3 separate regions of the Homo sapiens genome follow, and all the other regions are linked to region 1. Evidence: promoter capture Hi-C in 16 types of primary human blood cells and fetal thymus (Javierre and others, 2016). All regions are on one chromosome and are shown on one strand. The core of a region is centred on a gene start or on the middle of the fragment in contact, and the rest is flanking DNA. Distances in the headings are between cores, read along the strand shown.

Region 1 (4,084 bases), core at 1,524-4,023:
TTTACTATACTGTCAGTATCTAGAGGCCAGGAATTGTGCTGTAATTTGTGCTCTAGTGGCAGACATGTAGGAGGTTTGCTGAATGAATTACTGAACACCTAGAGTTGACTCCTGGATAAGCACACTAGGGAAAGCTATGGTCTGGTTACATACCACACACTCACACACGCACGCAGACACACAGTGGGTGAGATTCAGTTTGGTTAAAAATATTCAGTAGCTCTGACTGCCCTGGCAATGGTTTACAACAGCCATTTGGTGGCCTATAGAGAAAAAAGGTGCACTTCTCAGTCTAATTTCTGACAAAGGAAACCCAGCTTCTACTGAGTGGGTTAGATCGAGGGATAAACGCATGACAGACCACTTTCCTGAAACTTTTATCTTTGAATATACTGTTGTTTCCTCTCTCTGAATCTGGTTTGCATAACTGACTGTAACACCTGGTTATGTATGTTCACTGCCCTATCTCCCAAAATTTGCTCCCTCAAGGGAGTAAACAGGGTACACAATGCTATATCTACAATTTCTATATAAACTATGTAAAATAAAGTAGGTTAACTAATATTTCTTTAATATTCAAATATTGGTATATAGTTTCTACAGATATATCTATAGATTCTACATGGTCTCAAAGTTAAAGTTTCGCTCAACAAATCCCAGGCAAGGACTTAAATTACTTTATAATGACAAAATGTAGGTAATGGTGTGGATACACATGTATCCTAAAATGGCTACGCCTATAACAAGGATTCCAAAATTGCCATAAACTAGTCGTAAGTATTTTTGCTCATTACAACGGCATAAAAAGTCAAAGATTAGGACTTCCATTCATTTTTACATGCTAATTTTATTTTTTGGATTCTGAGGATTTTAGCTGATTCATTCCATTTGCAGTAAGACAAATGAGGAGGTTCCTGGTTAGGGCTCAGGTTTTAGACTCTAATAAATCTGAGTTCAAATGTGGATGGTAACATTTAACAGCTGTGTGATACTGGGCAATTACTTAATTTCTCTAAGCTTCAGTTTCCTAAAGTATAAAATGGGGTTAAAAACTATGTAGAAATTAGAATGAAGATAAAAATCAGATAATCTACAAAATGTGCTTTAAAAAGTAGTAAGTCTTGATAATTTTAATACTATAATGCTTGCTGATCCAAGCAACATTTAAAATATAAATATTGCAAAATATTAACGAGATAAAAAGGTGGGAAGAAGCTTCACTCTTTAACAATAAGCAAAGCTTTCAGGAGAATGAATGCAAGCAATTAGTACACAATAACGATTCATCATTCATTCAGTTCTGACTAAATTGTCCTGAAGTGACACATGAAAATAAACCGGCAGGTTTTATTCAGTGACTATGGAAGGTGATTAAGTGCTATGCTATTGCACTTAAAAAAGAGAGAGGAAAAAAAGGAGTAAGTGACGAATGCAACTGAAGTATCCTTCATGCAACCCTTGACAAGCTGTGTTTCCCTAGGAAACAAAGGGTTTACAGCTGCCTATCTTCCACAGCACTTAGTGACAATTTGGGACAATCTCAGCAAAAAGAAATGAGCAGACAAAGACGCTAGAAGGGCTTTGGGATCCCAAAAGTTAATGAAAGACCAAGTGTAAGAAGAGAAATAAAGTAATTCCCTCCAAGCCTAAAGTCTCTCCCGCTCCAATGCCCCCTGTACCCTCTCGGAAAATGGAAAATCCCTAAGGAGTCTACATCATTCCTCTGCCCGTTCCCCCTACTCTCCCCCAACCCTTCACGGATTCCCAGTGAATACCTGGCCTCGGGCAAGCTCCGTTACCTCTGTGAACCAGAGAATCCCAGCTGTAAAATGAGATCTTGATGGTTTCCTGCGGGGTTGCCATGAGAAAGAATCAACATGTACGCAGGTAAAGCAGGCAATACAGTTCCAGGGAGTCAAAAACGGGAGAAATCGTCCCACGACCTGGGGCTTGGGTCTAGATGAAGAGCACAGCATCAGGAGGCCAGGCTTCTAATGCGGCGCAGTCTACAGCGCTGTGGACTCGGCAACTCCCATCACCTGCCGCTGCACAAACACCCTGCTTGCTGCCCCCATAGACCGACCCCCGCCTGACGCCTCCCAGACCCCCCCACCTGACGCCCCTCAGGCCCCCCGCCTGACGTCCCAGACACCCCCACGACCGGATCCCCCAGACCCCCAATCTGACGCCCCACTTCCCCTACTTGACTCCCCACACATCCCCCGCCTGACGACCCCCCGACCCCCGCCTGACGTCCCAGACACCACCCATCTGATCCCCCAGACCCCCAATCTGACGCCCCACACCCCCCACTTGACTCTCCACACACCCCACACCTGCCACCCCACGTAAACCCCGCCTGACACCTCACAGACCCTAACCTGACGCCCCACAGACCTCCCCCGCCTCCTGCCGCCACACACACCCCAAACCCCGCCCCGAACACCCCCCACCTGCCGCCCCACAGATTCCCCCCTCTGACGCCCCACAGACCCCCAACGTGACGCCCTACAGACCCCAACCTGACGTCCCACAGATACCCCGCCTGACGCCCCACAGACCTTCCCCCGGTCTGTTGCCCCACAGACTTCTCGCCGCCTGCTGGACCACACCTTCCACTTGACTCCCCCCACACCGTCAATCTGCCACCCCCCACCCCCCCCACCCCAACCCCCCCCAACCTCCCAACCGCCCCCACCTGCCACCCCACACCCTTCCCACCTGACGTCAAGCCTGAAGCTCAGCCGCTAAGCCGGAAGCTGGCGCCAGAAGATGCCGGTTCCGCCAGCTGCTCGCCGCGCAGGCGCAGGGGAGACCCGGGGCCTTGCAGTCACCGGGCTCAAGCACGCCGGCGCAGCCAGGCTCGCGATGGGAGGTGGGGGGGCCGGCAGCCCCGTGGGGCTGCGGAGGCGGGACCTGCAGGATCCTGGTTAGGGTCTTGAGTACACACGGCTCCTATTGGCCTCGGCAGCAGATGCTCTCTGCAAGCAGTTGATCCACACGCCAGTGGATTTTGTCTCGAGGGAGACCTAAGATCACTTTGTGCTCTGGCTAGTGATAGCCTCTAATTCTTGTTCTCTGTACGTAAAACAGTGGTAACTATACTGATTTCGCTGGTTGTGAAAACTCCCAAGAGAGAACAGGACATCCTCCCAACTCAAAACGTTGGTTGTTTCATTTAAACTTTTAAAAAATAGGCTTTTGCAAACTATATAGAGCTGTTTTTTTTTTTAAATGATGTTTGCTACTGTGGTCTCAGTTCTCTTAATACAGAAATAATACATAACAATACATAACTTACAATATAGAAATAAACCGTTGCATGACCAGAAATCAACTATGGACTCTTCTAGTATCTGTTTAAGGTTTAAAAATAAAGTTATTTAACAAACCTTTATTGAGCACCTATTATTATATAGTAATGGTGCTAGATATTCAGGGTGGAGAGATTATAAACAACCCCAGTTTTTGTGTTCCAGGAGCTGTTGGTTTCCACCGAATTTTTGCTGTGGTCAGTCCTCTTTCGCCATGGAGAAGTGAGAAGTTATTCATAAAGAGGGGTGGAAACAACTTTTAGAACTATTTTATTTTAGCATAAAATATTGCTTTACAATAAAATAAATTTTGCTGCAGTGGGCCCTGATAAAACATATTAGAGCTGTTAAGTGCCCTTAGAGGTTGTGTAATGTATAAAAACCTCCTTTTTCAAAACTGACACATTTCATTCAGTGCTAGTTTGTAGCGGAGGTTCCGTCTAGCCCAAGAACATTCAGTTATTTACTTCGTATGTCTAATTGACCTAATATGCCTGAATATCTAAAATCATCTGTGATGTTGTAAAGTCTCATGATATTGTTTTGTGAGTATCTGCTCTTCAATTTAGTTATCAATTTATTTTGGAGGAAAAATGAATAGTGTTAAGGTAGAGGAGCCTCCACTTGCCCATCTTAGGAGAGGGTACCTATCCGTGTACATTTGTAGCTTGTTCAACCTCTACTGAGCTCCTACAATGTCAGAAGCTGGACTTTGTATTAGTTACATGAGAAGAACCATGAATTATGAAACCAGGCAAACTCCAAATTGA
Region 2 (3,980 bases), core at 748-3,247, 130 kb after region 1:
GCTTTGTAATCAGCCAAACGGGATCAAACCCAGATCCTTAATTTACCAGCTGCATGACTTGGGAGACTCACTTAAGCTAGGTGTACCACCGTATCTGTAAAATGGGACTACTAACAGTATATATCTTCAATAATTGTGAGGACTGAATGACATGAAATATGTGGAATAATTTTCAGTGTGGTCCATCCTAAGTGCTCCATAAATGTTGGATCTTTGTGTTATTGCTGTGATTTACTTCATGCCTTTGGTGTGAATTTAGTTGTTTATGTATCAGCCTGTCCGCTGAGACTGTTGAGCTCTCCTAAGGTCGGGAGTCTTACGTTTTATATTTTATCCCAGTGAGTGGTAGGCAGTGTATTATTCTCAAGACACTGAGGTGGTTCTTATCTAATATCTGTAATTCTAAAAGTTTTCAAGGTTTTTAAATTAATTCAACCAACCATTCTTTCAACAATTTTGAGGTTAAAACTTCTAACATATCCTTGATCACCTCAATTCTGGTATTTCTATATTCCTGTACAAAAAGAAATGTACAGACAGTGTGGTGAAACTTTACAAAAGATTAAGTGTTGGGATGGGGAAGCGGGGACATAAGTAATAAGAGGGCTTAAATCTGCCTGGAAAAGGTGTTTATTCATTATGTCCTCATATGATATGTTAAGGAGTTCAACCTTACTGGGAGGCAATGGGAATTAAATAAGGGATTTATTGTGAATGATAAAGTGATATTATTACTTTTACTTTTTTAAATTATACTTTAAGTTTTAGGGTACATGTGCACAACGTGCAGGTTTGTTACATAGGTATACATTTACTTTTAAGATTACATTGGAATCACTGCCATAGATGGTTTGTCGGAGTGAGAGAGGAAAAGAAAATTAGTTAAGAGGGCTTGAACTTTGGCAGTCATGGAGAGAGAGGGGAGAAGCGAATGGGCTGTGCAGATGCTGAGCAGGCAGAGCTGACAGGAAGGATGGCCCTTGTGCAGGTGCGGCAGACCCGGTGACTCAGAAAGAAGTGTGAAAGGGAGGCGTGTAACTCAGAGGGAGAGAGCAGCCTCGGTGTGGTTGACCTTCGTGGGGGCAGCTTCAATCCTGCAGGAGCACAAGGCTGATTGCTGGAGATCAATAAATGCGGAAGATAAGATAGTGGGGGTGTTGAGCAGATTTCACTTCATTCAGTAAGTTTACCTGCAAAAGGAAGAAGAGAGAAAAGGCAGCAGTAGCATGAAAATGTGTCGATTTTGTCAATTGGAGCATTCTGTATATTCTGTTCAATTGATGGCGCTTTATTTTACTGCTTAACTATAAAAGCCATTGACTGCATGATTAAGTACATAATGCCAATAAAAATGACCTTCCATCCTGTTGTTTTTTAATCACCAAATGACTCCCTGGCTGTCAGTAATAATGAATTCATACACACCAACAATAACAAAATGTTTATTTAGGACAGGACCTCACGTGAGGCCAGCCTTCCTAAGGAAGTGAACAGTTACCTGCTTTAAGGAACTGTTTGCAAATGGACCTCCTGTCTTATCTCTCACAGACCAAAAACTCCTTTTCAAACAAAAAACCTGGGCATATTTTGCCAGCAACAAATCCGGGAAAATATCTTAGTAGGAACTGGGAAACACTGCATTAGAATCTGAACCCTTCAGTAGCTCGAAGTCACCATGCTTTCTTTTTTTTCTTTATAGTACAATTTGTTTTTCAGAAGAGTTTTACATTTACAGAAAAAAAGAGAAAATAATATAGTTTTTATATACTCTGTACCATATGTTACAAATACTAAAGCAATGTTGATATATTATTATGAACCATATTTCTTTTTTTTATTATTATACTTTAAGTTCTAGGGTACATGTGCACAACGTGCAGGTTTGTTACATAGGTGTACACATGCCATGTTGGTGTGCTGCACCCATCAACTCGTCATTTACTTTAGGTATTTCTCCTAATGCTATCCCTCCCCCAGTCCCCCATCCCCCGACAGGCCCCGGTGTGTGATGTTCCCCGCCCTGTGTCCAAGTGTTCTCATTGTTCAGTTCCCAACTATGAGTGAGAACATGCAGTGTTTGGTTTTCTGTCCTTGTGATAGTTTGCTCAGAATGATGGATTATGAACCATATTTCATCTTTTACTCGGGTTTCCTTGGTTTTTACCTGTTATCCTTTTTCTGTTCCAGGATCCCATTCAGGATACCACATGGCATCTGGGTGTCTGTCCCTTTAGGCTCCTTGTGGCTGTGCCAGTTTCTCAGATGTTCCTTGCTCCTTGTGTGCAATGACTTTGATAGTTTTGAGGAGTACTGCTCAGGGATTTTGCAGGATGCCTGCTATTGGGATTTGTCTGATGTTTTTCTCATGAGAAGAGTGGGATGAGGAGTTACTGGGGGGAAGACCACAGAGTAAAAGTCGCATTGTTATCACATCCTATGCAGTGGAGATATTATCAACATGATTTTTAACCCTTAATGTTGGCCTTGAGCACCAGGAAGGAAGTCACTAAGTGCAGCCCACACCAAGGAATGCGAAGTTAGGCTTCACCTCTTTGCAGGGGTTGGGGGCGGGTATCTACATAAATTATGGGAAATTTTACTGTATGAGAGATTTGTCTCTTCTCTCATATTTATTAATTTATTCAACCATTTATATCTTTTGAATCCGTGGATGTTTATATTTGGGTTATAATCCGACATTACTTAATGCTCAAAGTGTTTCAGCTTTGGCCTTTGTTGATACTTTCAGCTGGCTCCTGTACTCTTCTGACATGTCCTATTACCCTGACACTTTCTTTTCTTTTCTTTTTTAACACTTTGTTACTTTCTGCTCATAGTTTATATGGGTGTATATGTCTCTCTCTCTCTCTCTCTCTCTCTCTCTCTGTGTGTGTGTGTGTGTGTGTGTGTGTGTGGTTAAGGGGAAACTGTCTAGGCTTGTACTTGGGGCTCTTTAATACCCTTCCGTATTTTTTGTCCATCTGATATCTCTCACACCGAGAATATGTTTCTGTCTATCATTCATCTCTCATAGTTTCCACTTTATGAACAAGTTGATGTGTTACTTGGTGCATAAGTATGAATACCTTCTATATATTAATGTGAAATATTTAAAATGATTAAATGGTGTTTAATTTGTCCCACTGAATGTTTTTACTCAAATTCTCTTCTGGGTGCTGTCAGGACCACCATCCCGATTTTCTCATTGATTCTATTTGCCTTGTGCATTTTGTAGACCCTTTAGTCTTTCTGAGTCACTTTGTTTTGGGTGTGTCTCTTGCGTGTAGCGTGTGGTTGGCTCTTGCCTTGTGAGCCGAGTTGAAAATGTGGATATGGTGGATATGATTGGTTTCAGCTCTGACATATTACTATTGTTGAACTTGCTGTGTTTTCTATTATGTCATTTTTCTGAAGGCATAGTATTAGTGTGGTTTTATTTGTTTTCGCTGGTGACCTATACAGTGTTTTGGAGGATGTGTAAAGTGATAATAGTTAAGTGATTGTCAGCCACCAAGAAATTCCCCACCACTATTTCTTTTTAACATTTATCATTCTTTTCTTGTTCTCAAAAAGCTATAAAAAGGCAAACGCCCTTAGGATGTCCAGAATGGCTATGATTTGTCATGTCCTTTTGGCAAACGTATTAATAAGGCTTTTAATAAAGAAATGAAAATGTATCTGACATTTTCAAAAAGCCAGTCAAGATTCAGAGTGTTATTTATACCTTAGCAGTCAATTCCCTCAATATTCATATAAAAATTTAATGAAATTACAATTAAAATCCAGCAGAGTGTACCCAATTTAGAACTGAATAAAATGATCTTAAAATGCATATGAAAATTCAAAACTTTGGGAATAGCCATGACAATGCTTTTTAAAACATATTTAACAGATGTCAGCAAATACTGCAAAGCCACTGGAGTCAACTTAATACGGCATTGGGATAGATAAATAGATTAGTTTAACCAAGTAGTACACCA
Region 3 (3,661 bases), core at 271-2,770, 200 kb after region 1:
AATATTCATGGAATTAATAATATCTTTGGGCAAATTATATTTTTGAAAAGATTAAGAAAATCTTTGGTGTACTATTATTTAAATACATAATGGAATCATTTGATAGAGAACAGACATCAAAATTCCCTATGCTAGAAATGTGGGACAAAGCTCTTCTTTTCTCTGTGAGCTCTCTTTTTCTTGTTTATGTAATGGTTCTTTGAGTGGTTTTATGATTGCTAAGACACAGGAAAAAGCAGTTGCCTAATGATTACCCATAGTTTTCCAATTTGGGGGCTAATACTACTAAAACCATGTTGTTTTGAGGTGTTTTTAACCTAATCTTTTTTTTACAAAAACAACTCTTTTTGCCACTCCAGTATGTGGTTTTATTTGTGTTTATGGGAAATCAACAGGAAGTCAAAACCACGTTTCTGCTGTGGTATCTATTCACCTTTTGGAACTATTGAATAAAGTGATTTTTTCTATTTATTTAAAAATAAATGGATGGTTAACCCTTTTAAAGATAATTCTGGTTGCAGAAGCATATTAAAGATGTATGCAGTTAAATACCATTTAATACTAGTTGCATTCAAATGGCCATTTGACTTGGGGATATTTATGGTTCATTGGTTCTGATTATGCTGACTTTTAATATTTCCTAATTCAGCCTTAGTGTACTCTACTAAGTACTAAACTTTTAATATTTCATAATTCAGGCTTAGTGCACCCTACTGAGTACTAGACGTTTAACATTTCTTAATTCAGCATTAGTGCACTGTATTAAGTACTAGTGTAGTTGGTGGAGGCAAATTTGCATGCAGGACACACTTTCAAGGGATTCTGGAAAATGTGATTTTAGCCTTCTTACCTTTCTAAAAAGAAGTTTGGAATGGAGTTTCAAAGAGCCAATCCAGTCATCAAACACATTCATCATTAACTGATTGAGAGACAATTGCCTCCAACTCCAGGCATCACCTCTGTGTCCAAGGCAAGATGAAAGTGCAAGGCCCAGTGAAGTCCCAACTGTCATTTGTCTTTCCCTGATACCACATCCCATTTCCCAGCAGTGTCCTGCCTATACTTCATTACTCATAAAGGTCTCATAAGGCCACATCTAGCTGCAAAGGAGGAAGACAGAGGGCAGGAGCTCTGAAATGCCTTGACCAGGCAATATGTAGTGCCTGCTTTATCCACTTAAGTGTCATTCAAGAATCAAAATAAAGAATACTTTCAAGAACTCATGCTTTTAGGGACCACACAGTCTTATTGAAAAAAGAGCACTTGATAATAAAATCAGCTATTTAAGAGATGAATGAAGATGCTCGGCTTACGGGATTAATGGTACATGTTGAATCCAGTATTAAAGAAAGGTATGGAGCAGGAAATAAATGGTGTAAATAACATAACACCAAATCAACTCAGGCGGCAGTAGGAAAGAGAAGAGGAGTGGAAGAGAGAAGTGTAAATATTTGTATCTCTAATTGTGAGGAGTCAAAAGAATCACCTAAAGATAATAACTTAATTGAAGTTTAAGAGCATAAATAAATTAAAAAACAAATTGTAATAACATAATCAAATATATTACTGATATAGGGAAGATGAAAGGAAAAAAGAATAATTTATGATTTTTTAATAACTTCATCTGGAACTTAAAGAAAAGCAGAGGTGAATATATCTTTAGTTCTTACTATTGTTCACCAGTGTCCACCGCTGTTTTTTTTTTTTGTTGTTGTTGTTTTTTTACTTTAAGTTCTGGGATACTTGTGCAGAATGTGCAGGTTTGTTACATAGGTATACATGTACCATGGTGGTTTGCTGCACCTATCAACCCGTCATGTAGGTTTTAAGCCTCATATGCCTTAGGTATTTGTCCTAACGCTCTTCCTCCCCTTGCCCCCCACCTCCCAACAGGCCCCTGTGTGTGATGTTCCCCTCCCTGTGTCCATGTGTTCTCATTGTTCAACTCGCACTTATGAGTGAGAGCAGTGTTTAGTTTCCTGTTCCTGTGTTAGTTTGCTGAGAATGATGGCTTTCAGCTTCATCTATGTCCCCACAAAGAACATGAACTCATTCTTTTTTATGGCTGCATAATATTCCATGGTGTATATGTGCCGCATTTTCTTCATGCAGTCTGTCACTGATGGGCATTTGGGTTGTTTCTAAGTCTTTGCTATTGTAAATAGTGCGGCAATAAACATAGGTGTGCAGTGTCTGTATAGAATGATTTATAATCCTTTGGATATATTCTCAGTAATGGGATTGCTGGATCAAATGGTATTTCTGGTTCTAGACCCTGGAAGAATCGCCACACTGTCTTCCACAATGGTTGAACTAATTTACACTCCCACTAACAATGTAAAAGCGTTTCTATTTCTCCACAGCCTCGCCAGCATCTGTTGTTTCCTGACTTTTAAATAATCGCCATTCTAACTGGTGTGAGATGATATCTCATTATGGTTTTGTTTTGCATTTCTGTAATGACCAGTGATGATGAGCTTTTTTTCATATATTTGTTGGCCACATAAATGTCTTCTTTTGAGAAGTGTCTGTTCATATCCTTCACCCACTTTTTGATGGGGTTATTAATTTTTTTTCTTGTAAATTTGTTTAAGTTCCTTATAGATTCTGGATTTTTTAAAAGTATTGCACACATATTATTAACATTTAAAAAGAAATTTTTAAGACAAAATAAACCTAGACTATATTCCTTCTAAACACATAGAAGCAAGGCACACACACAAGCCCCAAATTAAAAACATAGAGAAAAATGGAGAAAAAGAGAAAAATTTGAATAATTAATAAAAAGGAAATGGCTTTGGGAGCCTGAGGGCAGAGGATCACTTGAGGCCAGGAGTTCAAGAGCAACCTGGGCAACATAGCAAGACCCTGTCTCTACAAAAAATTAAGAAAGAAATTAGGGAGGTGTGGTAGCCCTACCTGCAGTGCCAACTACTTGGGAGACTGAGGCAGGAGGATCACTTGAGCCCAGGAGTTTGAGGCTGCGGTGAGATGTGATGGTGCCACTGCATTCTATCCTGGATGACAGAGCAAGACTCTGTCTAAGAAAAAAAAAGAAAGAAACAAAAATAGGAAATGTAAAAAATATACAGCAAAGAAGACAAAGCTGAGATCAAAGTCACTTGTCATATCCATAAATGTAGATGAGATAAAACAAAAAAATTAAAGGAAAACTTTTCTGACTTTATCAAATACAGAAGCCAAACATTTGCACACAAAACAATGAATTCTAGAACATACTTATAAATAAATACTGAGGATAAAAGGAAAGAAAAAGAATTAACAGATAAACGTATACAAAATGAATTCAGGTATTGTAAGATTAAGTCATGCATGGTTAAATACAAGGCAAAAATACTAAAAGACATAAAGAGATACTTTATGTTGATGAATGTTCAATATAAGATAAAGATTTACAACCATCATGAATCCAGTGCCACCAATATTGTACATGTTGTACACTGAATTCCAAGAAAACGTCTCTTTCAAGTGTTGTGCTGTGGGCTCTGATACATGTGAGATTTTATTTTGGGTACTGCGTACAGTGAGAGAGACAGAAGACAGGAGACTTAACCTAGGGCCATCCTAGGTTGGAAGTCTCATGAGAACTCCTTGAACAGAGCTGGTCCCAAAGAGTTAGCACTACTCTTTGTACAGGAAA

What was found. Contacts are between HindIII fragments. The CHiCAGO score rates a contact against its expected background, and 5 or more counts as called.
Region 2: a fragment that was not itself captured here is called in contact with the fragment with the promoter of LIG4 in region 1 in 1 of 17 cell types (monocytes); the score reaches 5.7 in monocytes.
Region 3: a contact is called between a fragment that was not itself captured here and the fragment with the promoter of LIG4 in region 1, in 1 of 17 cell types (non-activated CD4 T cells). The highest score is 5.8, in non-activated CD4 T cells.

Annotation. Positions count from the first base shown.
Region 1 is chr13:108,212,763-108,216,846 of GRCh38, forward strand. It overlaps LIG4 (DNA ligase 4), which reads right to left and starts at 2,774. Exons shown (of 3, transcript NM_206937.2): 1 at 2,722-2,774; 2 at 1,776-1,848. RefSeq lists an enhancer at 2,699-2,993 and a silencer at 2,837-2,976. The HindIII fragment of the contact is 5,824 bases long and covers 1,239-4,084 here.
Region 2 is chr13:108,345,569-108,349,548 of GRCh38, forward strand. The region is part of intron 2 of LOC105370355 (a long non-coding RNA gene); the gene reads left to right. Among named protein-coding and RNA genes, the nearest start is that of TNFSF13B, 78 kb to the left of the region's middle. The HindIII fragment of the contact is 9,906 bases long and covers 1-3,980 here.
Region 3 is chr13:108,411,479-108,415,139 of GRCh38, forward strand. No RefSeq gene overlaps it. Among named protein-coding and RNA genes, the nearest start is that of TNFSF13B, 140 kb to the left of the region's middle. The HindIII fragment of the contact is 5,337 bases long and covers 1-3,661 here.